Linked DNA regions of Homo sapiens: region 2 is linked to region 1. Evidence: promoter capture Hi-C in 16 types of primary human blood cells and fetal thymus (Javierre and others, 2016). All regions are on one chromosome and are shown on one strand. Each heading gives the region's core, a stretch centred on a gene start or on the middle of the fragment in contact. The rest is flanking DNA. Distances are from core to core; before and after follow the strand shown.

Region 1 (5,079 bases), core at 1,091-3,590:
TTTGGGAGGCCGAGGCGGGTGGATCACAAGGTCAGGAGTTCAAAACCAGCCTGGCCAAAATGGTGAAACCCCCATTCTCTACTCAAAATAGAAAAACTAGCCGGGTGTGGTGGCACGCGCCTGTAATCCCAGCTACTGGGGAGGCTGAGGCAGGAGAATGGCTTGAACCCAGGAGGCAGAGGTTGCAGTGAGCCGAGGTCGCGCCACTGCACTCCAGCCTAAAGGATAGAGCAAGACTCCATCTCAAAAAAATAATAAATTTGGTATGAGCAAACTGTTCCCAAATTGAGTTGGCAAAACTTCAAAGCGTTAGTTTATCAAAACAAGTTTTAATGAGAGTTGCATGTATAGAAAAGAAAATGGGGTGGGGACAGAAAAACGAAATATAAAGGCTCCCATCTGTACAAGTGTGCCTTAGCCTTGCAGGAAAAAAAAGCAATAATTTCACCTTTGGCGACCACTTCAGAAAATGCTTCACATATGTCTTATTTAATCCTAACAGCCTTGTTAGGCTGGTGGTATCACTCCTATTTTACAGACAATTTAACAGCATAGGGAAAGTTAAAAGATTGGTCCCAGCCTCCCACAAATCACTGGAGAGCTGAAACTCAAAGCCAAGTCTCATGAGTGCCTGAAAGCCCAGAGCCTCCAAGCTGTCTGAAGATGTTGGGCCACCTCCGTTTTTTGAAACAACCAGTATTTTTTAAAAAGAAGAAGGCCAGGTGGGGTGCCTCACACCTGTAAATCACAGCACTTTGAGAGGCCGAGGCGGGTGGATCACTTGAGGCCAGAAGTTCAAGACCAGCGTGACCAACATGCTGAAAACCTGTCTCTACTAAAAATACAAAAATTAGCCGGGAACGGTGGTAGGCGCCTGTAGTCCCAGCTACTTCGAAGGCTGAGGCAGGAGAATCGCTTGAACCCGGGAGGCGAGGTTGCAGTGAGCTGAGATTATGCCATTGCACTCCAGTCTGGGTGACAGAGCGAGACTCCATCTCAAAAAAATAAATTAAAAATAAAAAGAACAAGAACGCTGGCGTGGTGGCTCATGCCTGTAATACCAGCACTTTGGGAGGACGAGGCAGGAGAGTTTCTTGAGCTCCGGAGTTAGAGACTAGCCTGGGCAACAAACATAGTGAGACCCTGTCTCTATTAAAAATAATAAAAAGAACGAGAAGAAACCACGCACACACAATTGCTGCAAGTGTTAAATATTTGCATTTAAGGAGTTAATGCTTAAGGCATGAAAACAGTTCAATATGATCAGGCTATTCCAAGGGAACTGCGTATTCTTAGTCCACCACAACCTTTATGGTCCAGTGATCACCGAGGTGAATGTTATCTTTTAATTTGTGGATTTATCTCAGCAACTGCATGTATAATCTCTTGTGGAACGGTCAAGTCTAAATTTCTTCCCTTGGTGAATGTGAGCGAATCCCGGGCGCCTACGGGCTCTGGTCGCCCCCAGCCGACACCAGGGGTCTTCCCGGAACGTGCGTCTGGAAACAACCCCCAAGGGAGCTGAGCCGGCGGACCAAGCCGCACCTGCCGCAAGGCGGGACCACGCTAGCGTCGCTCGGGTGTTCGGGAGCCCGAAACTCCATGGCAACAGCTTTTCTTCGCAGCTGAGGCTTACGTCCCGTCGCCCCGGCCAGACCACCCCATGGGAGCGTGCTGAGTAACTCCCACGTGTCGGGGAGAGGCCTAGGCTGTGGGCCATTCCCTCTTCTTCAGAATTCTCATTATTTTTAGTCATCGGGTCAAGCGGACACAGGGATGTGTTTCCAGACTTTCCGAACAATGGAGATTAAAAAGGCACAGCAATCACATGGCCCCCCGGGACAGACGCCCAGGGAGCTTCGGAAAGAAACCATGCACTGCCCAAGGGCTCCCAGTGGGCAGCAAGCCAGGGTGAGACCCGGGCTGCACGCGCGGCGCCGCGGAAAGCACTCGCAGGGACATCCGCCTGGCGCCCAGCAGCCGACAGCGCGCGCAGTTGCGAGCCCTGAGCCCCGCTTCGCCCGGCGCGCCCCGCCCAGCCCACTGCACTACACACCCCGCCCTGCCCGGCATGCCCCGCCCAACCCCCCGGCACGACTCGCCCCGCCCTACCCGGCACGCCCCGCCCAGCGACCGGCACAGCCTGCCCCGTCCCGCCTGGCACGCCCTGATTAGCGCCGGGCACGACACGCACCGCCCCGCCCGGCACTCCCTGCTTCGCCCACGACACGCCCCTCCCCGCCCGGCAAACTGCCCGGAGCCAAGGCCCCGCCCCCAGAGAGAACCTGCCCCGCCTCCCTGGCCCGGGCCCCGCCTCCTTGGCAAGCGAGTGGCGCTTTCACCTTAGCAACCAGCGCGGCTCCCACCATGGCTGAAGAAGAGGAAACTGCTGCTCTCACGGAGAAGGTTATCCGGACCCAGAGGGTGTTTATAAACCTGTTGGATTCCTACAGCAGCGGAAACATCGGGAAGGTGAGCGGCGGCGGCGGCCCAGAGCCTCACGCCAGCTCTCAGCTCCCAGCCCTCGGCCCCCGGTCCGCAAACCCAGCGAGGGTCTGCGCCCCAGGGCGCTGTCGGGGCCTTTCCTCAGGGAGGGTCCCGCGTCCTGGGCACCACCAATGCCCCCTGGACCCCAGTCCGCACCCAGGCTGGTCAAGAGATTCTACATGGAAGCTCAGGTGTCTGGAAATCACTGGTCCATCCCCTGTTCCTCCTTTTAATGAGGGGAAACTGAGGCTAAGAGGCAGGGACTTGCCCAAGATCACATAGAGAGTTGAGGCCAGAACCTGGACAGAGACTCCAGGTCTCTTGCCCCCTCCTAGGTTCTCTTTCTACCCTTCCATCGATTTTGAAGCAGGCAGCTAAACGAGAAAATAAATCAATTTTTTTTTTTTGAGACGGAGCCTTGCTCTGTCGCCCAGGCTGGAGTGCAGTGGCGCGATCTCGGCTCACTGCAAGCTCCGCCTCCCGGGTTCACGCCATTCTCCTGCCTCAGCCTCCGAGTAGCTGGGACTACAGGCGCCCGACACCGCGCCCGGCTAATTTTTTGTATTTTTAGCAGAGACGGGGTTTCACTGTGTTAGCCAGGATGGTCTCGATCGATCTCCTGACCTCGTGACCCACCCGTCTCGGCCTCCCAAATTACAGGCCGAGTAAATCCAAAAGGGATTACAGGCGTGAGTAAATCAAATTTTTATATTGCCCATGAAGCGTTTTTCATTCATCCATCCCTTCAATATATGGTTTTTGAGCATCTATTATGGACCAGACACTGTTTGGGTCCCCGAGTTCCATTAAGTTTCCTCACCTTTCTGTGTCTTTATCCCTGGAAAATGAAGATATTCAGAAAAAGGGCTCTGGGGCCCTTCATGCTAATATGATCAGTTGTCAAAAGAAAGCCATGATTTTATCATTCCCTGTGGGTAGGACCCGTCCATCTGAATTCTGTCCTCTAGAGCTACAGAGAAATCTAATCTCACCCTGGACAGACTTCTCTGAGGCTAATGACTGCACTTTCGAACAGGACAAATCTGCTTAAAATAGGATGAGGCTACAGTACGTACAATCTGTATTAGTTTTCTAGGGCTGTGGTAACCAATTGCCACAAACTGGATGACCTTATAAAACAGAAATTATTCTCTCGCAGTTCTTGAGGGCAGAAGTCCAAGATCAAGGTGTCAGCAGGGTTGGTTTCTACTGGAAGCTCCAGGGGAAGAACTGTTGCTTGCCCCTCTCCTAGCTTCTGGTAGTTGCCAATAATTCTTGGCACCCCTTGGCAGTAGACTCCAATCTCTGCCACCTTCTTCACATGGTGTTCTCTCCCCTGTGTCTCTGTGTCAAAACTTCCCTCTTCTCATAAGGACACCAGTTGTTGGATGAGGACTCACCCTATCCAATATGGCTTCATTTTAACTTGATTACATCTGCAAAGACCCTATTTCCAAATAAGGCCACATTCACAGGTTCTAAGAGGACAGGAATTTGGTGGGGGTAGACGCTATTTAACCCAGTGTACCATCTAAAATGCATCCATCAAAAAACAGAGATTTAGGGTGGGCGTGGTGTAATACTAGCACTTTGGGAGGCCGAGGTGGGTGGATCACCTGAGGTCAGGAGTTCGAGACCAGCCTGGCCAACATAGTGAAACCCTGTCTCTACTAAAAGTACAAAAATTAACCGGGCGTGGTGGCAGGCGCCTATAATCTCAGCTGCTCTGGAGGCTGAGGCAGGAAAATCACTTGAACCCAGGGGGCGGAGGTTGCAGTGAGCCGAGATTGCACCACTTCGCTCCAGCCTGGGCAACAGAGTGAAACTCCATCTCAAAAAAAAAAAAAATGGTGACATTTAATCTAACATACACAGGATGAGGCTCAAGCCAGAGAAAATAGTTCTCAGAGGGCACAGCAAAAGCACAGGTTCCAAAGTAGGAATAGGGTTGGCGGTTTTTGTATGCACAGTGCTAGGGGGCAGTGCACCAGGGCTTCCTGGGCCCACTTCATTAGGTGCAGCAAGTACCATGCCCAGGGCCCATGAGACTTTTAGGGGCCCACAAAAAGTGTGCTAATTTCTTTTAAAATCAGAAGGAAACAAATGAAATCTTAGAGTCAATGAATGTGTTTTTCTTTATAGCATGCAATTGAGAAATATAATGTTTAAATTTTTTTTTTAATGGAGGAAGGGGCCCAGGGAGCCCAGAATGTGGCCCTACTCAGCTCCTAAGCCGGGATGCACTCATGGTCTGTGCTCCATAGAAATTTATTACATAGATTAGTGGAGCAGAGGCCAGCACAGAGGGCCAGGTCATGGATGGCCTTGGCCAGGAGTTTGGTTTATCCTCTAAATTCAGTGGGAAGCCTTGAACAACGCAGGGGTTAGGGGTTTTGTTTTTCAAAAAGATACAGATACAGGCTGGGCACAGTGGCTCATGCCTGTAATCCCAGCAATTTGGGAGGCCAAGGCAAGCGGATCACTTGAGGTCAGGAGTTCGAGACTAGCCTGGCCAACATAGCAAAATCCCATCTCTACTAAAAATACAAAAATTAGCCAGGTGTGGTGGCTTGCGCCTGTAATCCCAGCTAC
Region 2 (5,079 bases), core at 1,843-4,342, 60 kb before region 1:
TTAAAAAAAAAAAAGAAAAGGCATTAATACAATCACTAAAAACTACTATATAATTGGGTTAAAACCTTATAATTGTGACAAAATATATATCAGATTAAAATTTACAGGTGGCAATTATAGAAAAAGATCTCTTACCTGGGGCCCTCTATTCTCAGAATGCTTATAATGAAGCTGAAGACACACAGGGGAATGGGAACCAGTTTCTTCTTTGGAATGGAACGTTAAAAGCTTAAAAGTAAAGATGAAGATAAATTAAATGTATTAATCACAAGAATTTACAGAGGTGCCCATACAATAATGAGAAAGGCTTTCTGAAGTCAGAAATCTGGTTTTAAGTTTCATTTTTGTCACTTACTAGCAATGTGAACCTTAGACAAGTTAGTTAACTCATGTGATATCTCATCTGTAAAATGTAGGCGAGGATTCAAATAAATTCATTTCCAAGAAAGTGTTTTTGAAATAAAACACTATAAAGGGTCAAAGTAACAGCAATGAACATAACTTTGACAGTTTTCTAAAGTTTCTTTAGGTCACACTTTTACATTAGGAAAAATATCAGAAAAATGGTGAATGAACACAAGACATTTAACTTGTCTTAAACAATGCTTAGCACACAGCAGGCATTCGATAATTATTTGTTCAATAATCAAATTCTTCTGAAATGAAGAGTGCTTTGAACATGAGTGAAATGAAGTCATTTCTCTCATAACCCACCTGTCACTCCTAAACAAGTCAACTCTAATTTAAAATTCTAACAGATCCTTATAACGATGTTGAGTGACATTCTTAAATATATTTCTATAGAACACAAGTGCAAAAAGAAAATGACAATATTCCTCCTATGGCTTTCTATACATTTTTAAAGAAAATCATTGCCTCATACAATCATTAAAAAGCAAGGTAGATTTAAAAAATAATCTTAAAGAAAAAGTATTCAATATTTACCTCTGTATAGTGAGGAGGAACAGAATGAAAATCAGTTGGAAATAGGCACTCCAAAAATTCCATTTGCCCAATGGACATATCAGTACTAAAATATCGGGAAGCTGATCTTTGTCTTTGTTCATAGGATACTTTAATGCCAGTACCTATAAATCTATTATAAAAAATGCACCATTTAAGATTATTAGTGTTAAAATGTAACAATTATCCACCTAGTCTGACAAGTTCAAGTTATCAATAATTAATACTCCTAAGGAAATTAACCAGAAAGATTGCTTCAAATTTCCCTTTCCTTAAGATAAAAAATCAGTTCTGTTGATGGGAAATTTTCCAGGATCTGTTTATTTCCCAACACTGCCCTTCGTCTTCCACATTTAAAAATTTACATTGCAAAGGCAAAATCTTTCAGATCTGTAAAATATATGAAATAGTCTCTTAAAATTATCTAAAAACATTATGCAATATTTCAAAAACTTTAGTCGGTGAAGCCCAAATGAGGTCTACCTATATTTTCTGCCGCTTTTGTTCTATTTTCCTACTGGCAGATGTTTGAAACTTTGTCAAAAATGGGAAAAAAAAAAAAAAAAGTCCAGGCACAGTGGCTCATGCCTGTAATCCCAGCACTTGAGGAGGACAAGGTGGGCGGATCACCTGAGGTCAGGACTTCGAGACCAGCCTGGCCAGTATGGTGAAACCCCATCTCTCTTAAAAATACAAGAAAAAAAAAGGGGGGTGGAAGAAAACAAAATGTTTTTACAGTTTGAGTATAAATACTATAATCCTAACCTGTAGAGTTTTTCTTGTATTAGGTGTAAAACTACTTTTCATATCAATTTTCATACTTTAAAAAAGTTAAAAAGATTAAATAAACGCCCAAAGTATTTTCTAAAAATACTAATATATGATATGTTTAAACCACCGTATAAGATGTCATTCAACAATTTATAGATCACTTTCACATTAAAATTGTAAAACAGAGTTTGCATGTTAACAATACTAAAGGCTGGGCGTGGTGGCTCACGCCTGTAATCCCAGCACTTTGGGAGACCGAGGCAGGTGGATCACTGGAGGGCAGGAGTTCGAGACCAGCCTGGCCAACATGGTGAAACCCCATCTCTACTAAAGATACAAAAACTAGCTGGGCATGGTGGCACATGCCTGTAATCTCAGCTACTCAGGAGGCTGAGGCTGCAGAATAGCTTGAACCTGAGAGGCAGAGGTTGCAGTGAGCCAAGATTGCGCCACTGCACTCCAGCCTGGACGATGGAGTGAGACTCTGTCTCAAAACAAAAAACAAAACAAAACAAAAAAACCAACTATATTACAAATTCAATTATCTCCTCATCTGTTAAGACTCAACCCATGAAAGGATCACTCACTGGCTATTTGGATAGCTTTGATTTTTCTTAAGCAGAAGTTGAAACGTAGCATCCAAGTTTCAGGATCAGCCTTGGTAATGTTTCCCACCCCATGGCCAGTGGCATATGGATCAGTTCCAATAGTATTATTTTATTTTTCATCACCACTGTCATCTCTGCTAATGCCAGTGACAATAAGAACTGTTTTCACGACTGCAGTGGTGTCAATAGGGATGAAGGCAAAATGTGGTTAAAGAAACTTGACAAGAGCTGGGCAGGGAACTAAAGAGATCACTTTGAAAACTCCTATTATCTAGATCTGTTATTCTGCATGCCAAATAACCTGAATGAAAGATTCTAAACACCTTTGCAGCACTGCAAGAAAACTTCACTCATTCCATTCATTTACAAATAAAATGTGAATTAGAAAAACAAATGCAGATAGGCAGATACAAAAGTCCACATGTGGTTCTTTTTCAAGGATCATTAGCATATGTGGAAGTTTAAAGGATCATTAATACATATGTGAGAGTTTACCTAAGGTGATCGTGTGAGCAAGCTTCTGCAAACACTGCTCGGAAAGACTTAAAATCTTCTGTTGAAAATCTTGCTGGATCAATCTTTTCTATACAAGTAAAGAAAGCTACTGCCATAGGTGTCAATGGATTAAGGTTCTGTGACGTTTCAGGTGGAGATAAAGGATCAATGTGAAGCACAGAGATTGAAAAAGTTCCCACAGCTAGTCTAAAAATAAGTTCAGGCCTTGATTCATCCACTGAAACAGATCTAGATGGGAGAGCTAAAATACAAGTATTAAAATTATATACATAAAATTTGACACATAAAACTATTAAAATTATAAAACATTTACTCATTTATTAGCTTTAAAAAACAGATGATCATACAACAGTTTGAATGATATTAAACAATTAATTTAAGTAAAATCAACTGCTATCTTGCTGCATCTTACATCCAAGATTTTTGTACTAAAGTACAAGAGTACGTGACAACAGTAAATGTACAAACCAAGCTTTTATATTAATAAAAACATACTGGAAAACTCAAGATTAACCAAAAACTGCTCACCAAATTTTCCTTTAAGCCTTGGGTCTATATCAATTAAATTTTGCAGAAAAGAAACCTGAGGTTCTCTTCCAAGGAAAATGTAAATAGTGAAACAAAAATCACATGATTGACTGAGGGTCCTGAACTGCAATAATAATATGAAACTTACAGTGTACTTTTAACTAAAAATATTTAAGTATTTAAATACACAAAGAATACAATAAATGAGCAACTATTCTAAAACACTTCACAGTGAATTGTTTAACAATGGTTCATTTTGCTTTCTGAACTTTGTAAATGGCCAAGACCAGAAAAAAAAAAAAAAGAAAGAAAAGCACCAGTAGAATGGCATTTTAAAAATTCCAGCGGAAACTAACAACAAATGTCTTATTTTTACTTACATGTCTTCTGTAAAGGTGTTGGGTGAACTAGGTTGGATGGAAATGTTGACCCTCTTACTGGCTGTTCTTTATGATGATCAAGGAACTCTCCCCAAGTGGGCTGAAGCTATAAAAGATTTTTTTTAAGCACATGAATGAAGTGTAGAATTTTAGAAGCAACTTTTCAGTCTAGAAGAAAAATTAAGTAATACTTTACCACAGTAGCACTTAATGGAGATCCTGCTGGGGTATTTGTATATGTACTAGTTAATGATAACTCAAGGTCCATGTTTGGGGGGTCCCCAAGGGGTGGAAGAGAAGAGAGACTATGAGACATGTCCATATCAGCCATGGAGAAGAATACTTCTTCTTCTAGAGAGAATTAAACTATGTCACTTGTATTATAATCCCACCAATTCAAGTCTTTTAAGTAAGTTAATATACGTTAATACAATCCTCTTCCTTCAGATTATATGAGATACAGCGATGCCCCAAATTTTATGTTACTTACAGTGGTGTAATTTATGAGTCCAAAATATTAATGGCATAGTAAAAACTCAATATAAATTAATAAAAAATGAAGCTACCCTACTGATGAACATGTTTTCTTTTGTTTTAAATATATAAATGTAGTATTACCTGGTATATTTTTAATGTGATATGCCAGTTTAGGAATTAAAATCAGATATTAAAATAGTATAAATATATTGCAACCTCTAGTTTCATCTGGATACAGTTATTTCTTTTATTCAGAGCCAAAAACATTATTTGGAATTCCATTTACATTTCAGTTCCTTCTTTCGGAATTGTTTTACTCTCATGCAAATGAAGTTTATTATGGCCAAAATTTTTTGAGTAGGGTTTGATTTCTTATTTTGTCCAACATTCCATACTTAAATTGATCCATATTATTTATGTTATTAGCATTTATACATTGTGAAACACCTATAAATGTAAAGTAAGCTGGGTAGAGATCATTATTTACATATAACTGATGGAAAGATCAATAAAGGAAAGTTTCCTTATTAAACTTTAGTAGTTCAGTAGTTTCTTAATCTAGAAATCATTACATGAGCACATAATAATTTGACAAAATATATAACTACCTAATTTAACTTTCACATAAATTTACATTTTTATAAATTGGTTTTCCTTAGACTAAATCATTTAGAAAACAAAACTACACAATCAAAATCAAAAAAATATACTATAGCACCTATGTGCTGGTGCATTACTGTAATGTTGTGATTAGATTAATCGTAAATTAAAAGTTGTGGATTTCTTACAATGTGGATCTTTTTGTTCTTTCATTCCTAAACTTCTGTTCACAGCAG

The links. The method cuts DNA at HindIII sites, captures the fragments that hold promoters and counts their contacts. A CHiCAGO score of 5 or more calls a contact.
Region 2: a fragment that was not itself captured here is called in contact with the fragment with the promoter of AK7 in region 1 in 1 of 17 cell types (erythroblasts); the score reaches 5.5 in erythroblasts.

The regions. Positions count from the first base shown.
Region 1 is chr14:96,389,788-96,394,866 of GRCh38, forward strand. AK7 (adenylate kinase 7) reads left to right here and starts at 2,341. Exons shown (of 18, transcript NM_152327.5): 1 at 2,341-2,472. The coding sequence starts at 2,368. RefSeq lists a silencer at 1,901-2,410. The HindIII fragment of the contact is 12,427 bases long and covers 1-5,079 here.
Region 2 is chr14:96,328,539-96,333,617 of GRCh38, forward strand. It overlaps ATG2B (autophagy related 2B), which reads right to left. Exons shown (of 42, transcript NM_018036.7): 9 at 3,963-4,117; 10 at 3,767-3,872; 11 at 2,838-3,099; 12 at 946-1,096; 13 at 136-228. Among named protein-coding and RNA genes, the nearest start is that of ATG2B, 32 kb to the right of the region's middle. The HindIII fragment of the contact is 471 bases long and covers 2,858-3,328 here.